Regions from separate parts of the Homo sapiens genome. Here all the other regions are linked to region 2. The links are contacts of gene promoters, found by promoter capture Hi-C in blood cells and fetal thymus (Javierre and others, 2016). All regions are on one chromosome and are shown on one strand. The core of a region is centred on a gene start or on the middle of the fragment in contact, and the rest is flanking DNA. Distances in the headings are between cores, read along the strand shown. Region 1 has its middle 67 kb from the start of SGIP1. Region 2 holds the start of PDE4B-AS1 (PDE4B antisense RNA 1). Region 3 has its middle 28 kb from the start of SGIP1.

The links. Contacts are between HindIII fragments. The CHiCAGO score rates a contact against its expected background, and 5 or more counts as called.
Region 1: a contact is called between a fragment that was not itself captured here and the fragment with the promoter of PDE4B-AS1 in region 2, in 6 of 17 cell types (naive CD8 T cells, total CD4 T cells, naive B cells and 3 more). The highest score is 8.0, in naive CD8 T cells.
Region 3: a fragment that was not itself captured here is called in contact with the fragment with the promoter of PDE4B-AS1 in region 2 in 2 of 17 cell types (total CD4 T cells and total CD8 T cells); the score reaches 5.3 in total CD4 T cells.

The regions. Positions count from the first base shown.
Region 1 is chr1:66,466,049-66,469,144 of GRCh38, forward strand. No RefSeq gene overlaps it. Among named protein-coding and RNA genes, the nearest start is that of SGIP1, 67 kb to the right of the region's middle. The HindIII fragment of the contact is 3,391 bases long and covers 1-3,030 here.
Region 2 is chr1:66,049,433-66,052,275 of GRCh38, forward strand. PDE4B-AS1 (PDE4B antisense RNA 1) reads right to left here and starts at 1,286. Exons shown (of 3, transcript NR_123718.1): 1 at 1,099-1,286. The region is part of intron 3 of PDE4B (phosphodiesterase 4B); the gene reads left to right. The HindIII fragment of the contact is 6,978 bases long and covers 1-2,843 here.
Region 3 is chr1:66,504,438-66,507,268 of GRCh38, forward strand. No RefSeq gene overlaps it. Among named protein-coding and RNA genes, the nearest start is that of SGIP1, 28 kb to the right of the region's middle. The HindIII fragment of the contact is 2,108 bases long and covers 344-2,451 here.

The DNA.
Region 1 (3,096 bases), core at 85-2,584, 420 kb after region 2:
GTATACTTGAGATTCCTGTGGATGGCACCAAGAAAGGTATTTGGGCTTAACCTGAGGCATCTGCTGAATCAGGGAGCCAAAGCAGGAGGGAGCAACTTTTTGGGGACCCAGGGGATGGTTAAATTGAATACAAGCCAGATTTCCCAAATCATAGTATTGTGCAGAGGAGAGATGTCCTATAGCCTAGAGAGAGGATTTGAATGTCTGCTGTACCTAACACTAGGTATGTTCTATTGCAGATGCACAGTAAATATTTACAAAAGGAAGCTAGGAAAGAAATAAGTTAGCTGGTTAGTTCTTTCTCTATAGTACTTTGCATGGTCCCTGTGTAATTCTTTTAGAAAGATGAAGATAATAAATGCACTATGCCTAGGCTCCTACTACTCCTCTTCACCACACTGTAGCTTCTAAACACATTCTTTCTCCTCCCTCCTCATGCCTTTCTACTCCTTTATGCACACCTGGAACTCCTGATGTATCAAACCTGCTTGCTGCTCCAGCAGTACAACATGTCCTCTCACACGCACACCAGGGCCTGAGCCCTAAATGCTGAACCCCTGGTATGTCTGGAAAATCCCTCCTCCTCTATCGAAACGAGATCTTGAAGTATTCCCTAACCTTCCCATATAAGATTTCCAGGACACCCAGTGCATTTCTTTTCATTATTTGTTATTTACTCCCTGACTCATGTTTAGCTGAAGTCTCATATAATCCAAATTTGCTACTTTTCTTACCTTGAATTAGCACAATTTACTATTTTCTGTATTAGTTTCCAGAGAACATTTTTCCATTGCTCTCTTCCTAATTCTCTGTCGTGACAAAGTTCTTTGGAATTCAAGTTGCATTCTCCAGGGTGTTATCTACTTTTTTCATTCTGGAAAAATGTTGACAGAACTGCCCATACAGAAAAAACCACCATCATTCTCAGCAAACTATCACAAGGACAAAAAACCAAACACCGCATGTTCTCACTTATAGGTGGGAATTGAACAATGAGAACACATGGACACAGGAAGGGGAACATCACACTCTGGGGACTGTTGTGGGGTGGGGGGAGGGGGAAGGGATAGCATTTGGAGATATACCCGATGCTAAATGACGAGTTACTGGGTGCAGCACACCAACATGGCACATGTATACATATGTAACAAACCTGCACATTGTGCACATGTACCCTAAAACTTAAAGTATAATAATAATAAAATAAAATTAAATTAAATTAAAAAAAGAAAAAAGCCTGTTATTTTTATAAATAGGAAGGGTCTTAAAGATTATCTAATCAACATCCTTGTTTCAATGATAAGGAATTTGAGGTCATCAGAAGTGAAATGACTTCTCTATGTTTGTGGAATTACTTTATAGTAAAACCAAAACACAAACTCTGATATTGCAATAGACAGTAAAGTATTGCTGTTTTGTCTAAGACAAAGCAAAATGAAGCATCTTAACTGAGCTCATTCATAATTCCATATTGAAAACACCAAATGTGCCCTGAGTGATCTTCACAATCATTTCAGAACCTCTGGCCATGGCTTTGAATGTAGGGTATTTCAAGCCAATGGAATACATGGCAGGACCATAGCATGTATAATAAAAGAGAATCAACATGTAAAAATACACCTAGTAAAAAATATCATACACTCCCTGTACCTTTCTCAGATTTTGGCATTCTTAAAACTGAGAAGGACTTCATAGGTTACTCAGAGAAGTGACTTCTATATGTCAAGCATTTTAGCAGACTATTGACATACCAGACCTTATTTACTCATCACAAAACAAACTCATTGAGGAAAGTGTTACCTCTATTTTTAAAATGCTAGGACTTGAGGCCGGGCTTGGTAGCTCATGCCTGTTATCCCAGCACTTTGGGAGGCTGAGGTGGGCGGATCTCCTGAGGTCAGGAGTTTGAGACCAGCCTGACCAACATGGCGAAACCCTGTCTCTACTAAAAATACAAAAATTAGCTGGGCATGGTGGCAGATGCCTGTAATCCCAGCTACTAGGGGGGCTGAGGCAGGGACAATCACTTGAATCCAGAAGGCAGAGGTTGCAGTGAGCCTAGATTGTGCCATTGCACTCAAGCCTGGACAACATAGTGAGACTCCATTTCAAAAAGAAAAAAAAATTGCCAAGACTTGGATTCAGATAAGATAAATGCCTTCCTCAAATTTCTAGCCAAGTAATTATGGAGCTGGTGTACAAACTCAGGTGTGTCCAACTTCAACACCTTCTTAACCCTTTGCTCCTAATCAGATTTACTCCCTCTAATCACAGGATTCTTTACAGATTACATGAAGTGAAGTTCCCAGCTTCAGCTGGAAAATCTCAGTCTGGGGTGGATTTTGTTTTGAGAAGCAGCTCTCTTTCTATAGTTGAAAATTCTGGGTTTTCTTCCTAATTTTAGATTCCCAAATTTGCCTACCAGAAACTTCCACTGAGTCTTTATGCAGACTTTTGGAGCAAACCTAACCAAGCTAATTCTTTGTGAGGACACTTCTAAACTTCTTCCATTGTTCCTTGAGCTTGATTTTGTTCTGTAACTAACTAATTGAAATTAGGTAACTGTGAGTCTTCATTTCTTCAGGGAAAACATCCAGTGTTCACTCAACTATTATCGGTAAACTTTTCTTCCTAGGCTCATTCCTGGATGGCATTTCTTGTACTTTATATTCCAGTGTAACTGTATAAGTATAGCTCTCAGAACAGGACATGACTACTCCTCCTGTAGTCTGTTTTCAACTTGATATTACATTTCAATGAATGCAGCCTAAGTTTATTAGCTTTTTCATCAGGATCCCAACACACTAAAGACATATTTTCTGAGTACGACTCTACAAGGCTTAACAACACTCAAGAGACTCTCAGAAATTTAGCCAACACTTGATTCATCCAATTAAAAGGAAACACCATTAACATGCAGTCAAACGCAACTGAACTGGATCTTAACTCCCAACATTCAAGACTTTTATGGGAAATCACAAGCTACTTAGCTCTGTGTTACTTTGCTGAATTAGTTACAGGACCAAATCAAGCTTTGTGGGATTTTTGCCAGCTTCTGTGCAGAGATATGCATTGGCCTCCATCTAATGCCATTTC
Region 2 (2,843 bases), core at 36-2,535:
GGTTTGAGTAACAAAAATACCTTCTTAGGATGCCTCACCAAATAATAGAGGGTGCTGAAGAGAGTATCTAAGTAAGAGACCTGGCTATTTCTGGAGGTTTTTCAACTAGACCTACGTTTAATATTTAAAAACATGAAAACTCATGTAATTAACATGTAACTTATTTGTATTAAAATTAGTATGCTGACATGATATTTTCTAAAACTGGGCCACATATGCATGGATTTCCTAAATAATCCTTCAAGAGAATAGAGCAGGAAATGAAGTGATATGCCCATTTGCAGTGTGGTATGGGGCTTCCTGAATGTATAAATGTGGAAGGCAGCAAGGTGGGGTTGGATACCAGTAATGCCAAGAACTTAATTTCAGCATTTCAACCACCGTGTACATCCTCAAAATGCCTTTCACTTTAATTTTGTATAAATACGAATTGGATCCCGGGTTACCTTTTGCTTTAGAGATGAAAAAAATGTATTTACGTTTCCCACACAACTGCTAGGAATTAAAGTAGTGTGAAAACTCCACACAAATAAATAATACATTTAAAACTATTTTTAGAAGAATAATTCAAAAAGACAGTAGTTTTGGGACATAGGCAACAAAAAGTCCCTTTTACCTAGGTTTCTTTGATTCAGAGATTCAGCATACGGATTTATGGAGACAGATTATATCCTCAACAAATTAAAGAATACAGGATATACACTGTTGTCTAATATAATATGAGGAAACTTTAAAATTTATTTCCATGAATTCTATGTTCAATTGGAAATATATGTTCAATTGAGTATCAGTAGAAAAATCTATTGTTTTTACTAATGACTCAGCTGCTTAAATGATCTATTGTATCGGTGGCCAGTGGCAGGAAGGAGGCTCTGTGCAGTATTGTTGTAACCATGACATTAGTGACATCATTTAGCAGAAATAGAATTTGGGACATTTGGAAAACAAAGCAGTGGCCTCTTGGCTCAACTTTGTGAGAACCTAATAAATTCTAAGAAAGTATAATGGACAGTGTTGATTTCTCCATATATATTTAGTGATTTTACATGTATGCACACACACACACCTACATACATAAAGTATTTCATTTAAATTTACCTACTAATGTATGATATTCGCAATGCCGTATAGACTTTGGGAAGAATGTTAATCTTGTATTGCAAAGCCATGCTCTACTTTAAAAGCAATGCCTCCAGATGTACAGCATACTTAACAGGGCCAAGAAAACATGTAACGTTGATTCTGTTCTGAGATACACCTTTGTTAAAAAGAATCCCTTCAGTTTTTCCTGTCTGACTAAAAATGATGAAAGGCAGGGTATCCTGAATGGCTGTGTTAGAACATCGAGGTATTGGAGATCCGTGAAGGAGCATCATCGTTACTATAGAAACAAATGCTGCCCCTGTCATGGACATCCAAAGGACAGACTGAAAAATGAGGAAGGGAAAAGCAATGGGAGGAAGAGGTGCCATGAAATGAGAATAAAGAAACTACACAGGAAGGACTGAATTAAGAAAAGAACAGCCTGAGGCAGAGTGAGGAATCTAGACACAGAAAATTCCCAATGGAAATGTAAAAAACTGGATCACCACTTGTGTGGGTACAAAGAAATGATGACTTTTCTGTTTTTAAAAGTTAAATTTTCTTCTAAAGTATAAGTATGTTTTTGCCTTTGGAACAACTTTTTGTATCCTGAAGTCTCTCTTATGGCACATGTATACATATGTAACAAACCTGCACGTTGTGCACATGTACCCTAAAACTTAAAGTATAATAATAATAAAATTAAAAAAAATTAAATTTGAAAGAAAACAAAATAAGTGAAAGTATTGAAGATTGTGATAGAAAATGTGTTTGAATAATGAGTATTAGAATCTGTGACAAGTCACTCGACCTCACCTTAAAATAGGGAAACTAATAGCAACCTCATGATTATTGGGTCAGTATAGGAGAGAACCAAATTCAAACCCTGCTCCATGGAGTGAACATTTCTATTTTGGGGGAAAGATTAGGGAACGGAATCTGGGAATATAAATTATTCATTTTAGTATTTCAGAATGAAGAGAAAAGAGAAGATTTCTTTTCCTTTATTCCTCTCGCTGAAAAAGAATAATTTGTTCATGTTTGAAGACTGTGAACAGAGGTAGAAAACATTTATTATATATATGTAAATATATAATTAGATGACAGTTTACAAAGTGAATGAATAGATGCTATTAAAATGCTACTTTTGACCTTCAAAAACATCTCAAATAGGGTTGATATTATTTGGTTATTTGCTGATTTGGATAAATTGCCAAGCAGAATTTTATATCAAGAATAGAAGATATAACGTTTTTCTATAACATTTGATATGTTTTCTGGAAATGTTTACTTATAGATTATTATCACTCATGTATTGTGGTAGACAAGGTGATGTAGCATCCAGATACCTCTTAAAAGAAACACTTCCCAGCTCCTGCCTTTTTATCCAAAGTCATACTATTCACTCCTTAGGGCAGCCTACTTTCATAGCTGATGAAGGTTGGGGTATAAAGGTATGGCCATCTTCTGAGGTTCTGTTGGGTTTACCAAGGTGGTGGGGCCTGCATTGAAGCTCAGCTTTTCTTCTGCCAGTCCTGCTTCTTCCTCATCCCTTTCATGTTGTTGAGTCCAACAAGACAGTTCTTAATAAACATCCTGCATGCTAAACTTCAATTCACAGTCTGATTTCTAGAGAATACAACTGGCATCATATACTTTACTATTACAAGTAAAATATCATATGGATAAATATTTTCTATTTGAAATGTCCGTAAAGTTTTACTTTTAAAATCAGTTTTCACATGTATGCATAGCTTCAG
Region 3 (2,831 bases), core at 148-2,647, 460 kb after region 2:
TTCCACTGGGTGTTTTTTTTTTCTTTCTGTAAACAAACTTTATTTGCATTCTCTTATTAACATTAAAGGTTTACTGAGTTTAGTAAGAATAAAAACTCTCTGTAAATGTAATTACTTTTAGAATTTATTTCCTTTTAAAAGTGTTCCTAAAGGAATTCCTGAAACACATCAAATTTTTCAGATCGTTACCTCTGAGGAAAGGCAGAAGTGATGAGAATTTTGGAGGAGAACATGGGAGAAGAGCTTCGACTCTACCTATAATATTTTATTTCCAAATCTAAATACATATTAAAATTCAATAAAGCTGGGTGGTAGGCATACATATAATATATTCAACTCTGTAAGCTTCTGCCTTTGCAATTTTTTATGATAAAAGTATTTCCAAAAATCCTAAACTAATTATGGTCTTTAAATATAATTTGGGGGAGTTAAAAAAAGAATCTGAATTTAAGTTCTGCCATGCAGTGTGGCTGCATGAACTTGGCCACGTTCCTTTAACTCCTTGAGCTTCCATTCTCTTATAAATTGAGAGGGTTGAACATATAATCTTTAAAGCCCCTTTTAGGCTATTAATCTTTACTTCCATGAAACAAACAATATATTTAGAACATAATTTGATATAAGTTACAATTTCTCAATGTGCATAATTAATTGTGAAGTGGTGGGGCAGTGGGGTAAAACTTGGTAAACCTAAAGTCTAACTGAAAAGAGAATACAGTATGTGGGTATTTTTCCTTCTCTCAACTTTGCTTTTAAGAGAAACAGGCTAACCATGAAAACAAAAACAAACAAACAAAAACACATCAAAAGCCTCATGTCAAATATTCAGAAGTTTCCATTTTTTTGTTGTTATTGTTGTTGTTGTTTGTGGTTTTTTGTTTGTTTGTTTTAGAGACGGAGTCTTGCTCTGTTGCTCAGGCTGGAGTGCAATGATGCAATCTTGGCTCACTGCAACCTCCGCGGTTCAAGTGAATCTCCTGCCTCAGCCTCCCAAGTAGCTGGGATTATAGGCACCCATCACCACGCCTGGCTAATTTTTGTATTTTTAGTAGAGATGGGGTTTCACCATGTTGACCAGGCTGGTCTTGAACTCCTGACTTCAAGGGATCTGCCCGCCTCAGCCTCCGGAAGTGCTGGGATTACAGGCGTGAGCCACCTCGCCCAGCCTATTTCAATTTTTAAGGTAGAAAATTTGAAACTTTCAGCTGCGTGTGGTGGCATGTGCCTGTATTCCCAGCTACTTGGGAAGCTGCAACGGAAAGATTGCTTGAGCCTAGGAGTTTGAGGCTGCAGTGAGCTATGACCATGATGCTGCACTTCAGCCAGGGCAACAGAGCAAACTTAAAACAACCTTTGCAAAGATTATGACAGTGAAAGAAGTCTAGCACAGCTGACTCCACAGGCTGGCTTCTAGCCCCACAGGCTGGCTGTCCTCACTCATTCCTGGGTGTAGGCCAAGCTAACCATGGGAGGAATTTAGTTTATAGTTTAACTTTAATGTAAGGATGATTGATAATAGTCCCTTACTAAAACTGATCCCCTCCTGTTCAGGAATGGAAACCACCTTTGTCTGAATTTTTGGCATGAAAGAACAATGATTAGAATTACGGGAGGGGCCTGAATTCTGCTAAAATGTAGGTGTAGCTAAACAATAACCAGCCATTGTCCCTAGCTTGTTTTTCTATAATCTCTTAATGCTCAGGAATCATATGGCCAGAAGTCACAAGATTTGTGACTTTGCCAATTTCTCCTATAGATAACATCACTATTGTAAAACTTAAGATTGGTCTTTTGAGATATTTTTCAGACTTTTGCATTCTGGCAACTCACCCGACTGAGACCAGTGACTCATGACTCAGCTGGTCCTGTGTTTCCCACCCAGAGGTGGACTCAGCGCATGAGGACCATCCGTTTTCCACATTCCTATGATTTCATCACCAACCAATCAGCAGCACCCATCCTCTAGCTCCAAATTGCCCATAAAAGCCCTAGCCTCTGAGTTCTCGAAGAGGCTGATTTGAGTAATAATAAACTCCTATTCTACCACTTGGCTGGCTTTGCATTAATTAAACTCTACTGCAATAATGCTATCTCAGTGAATTGGGCTTATCTATGCCACAGGCAAGAAGAATCTGTCATATGATTACAAGACCATGTTAAAAAAAAAAAGAAAGAAAATTTGAAACCTCTATTTCCAAATATTAGGAACTTGGAAAAATATGCACAAAGCTAGGATTTCTAGTAAGGTGGGGTTCATATACTTTCCTGATACACTTTCCTGATACAGTTTTCCGTGTCAAGAGAGATAAGTCACTAGGTGATAAGCTAGATGTGATTAGGAGGGGGTGGTGAAGACTGTGACAAACTAGAAAGAGTATGTCCTAATTGGATAGTCAGCATTTAGCTTTAGTTTATTATTCCCATGTGTCAGTTTGAGGCTGACATTAACAAAGCTTCCCATTTTCCAAAAGAAGACCCAGAAACCAGAAGATACAGAAACCTGGACTTTTGGATATTTTTCGTAGTTTTTATTTGTTGGTAAATCATGCAGATCTTTTCTTAGAAGTGAGTTGTCTATCAGATAAAAACATCAAAGGGCTCAATTTAATTCATACTATTAATGTTTTACTGACTTCTGGGCTTAAGTGTGTTTGTTGGTTATGTTCTGTTTTGAGGTTTTCAGTAACATTATTATCATGTCTACAGGAATTGAAGCTATTAGTTACTGAGCCCCAGGTTATTACCCCATACACACATTTTTCTGGTGACTTCAGCTCCTAGTTCATTCTCATGCTGTCTGTACTACTTATTATATCTGCACTCTTGGTGAT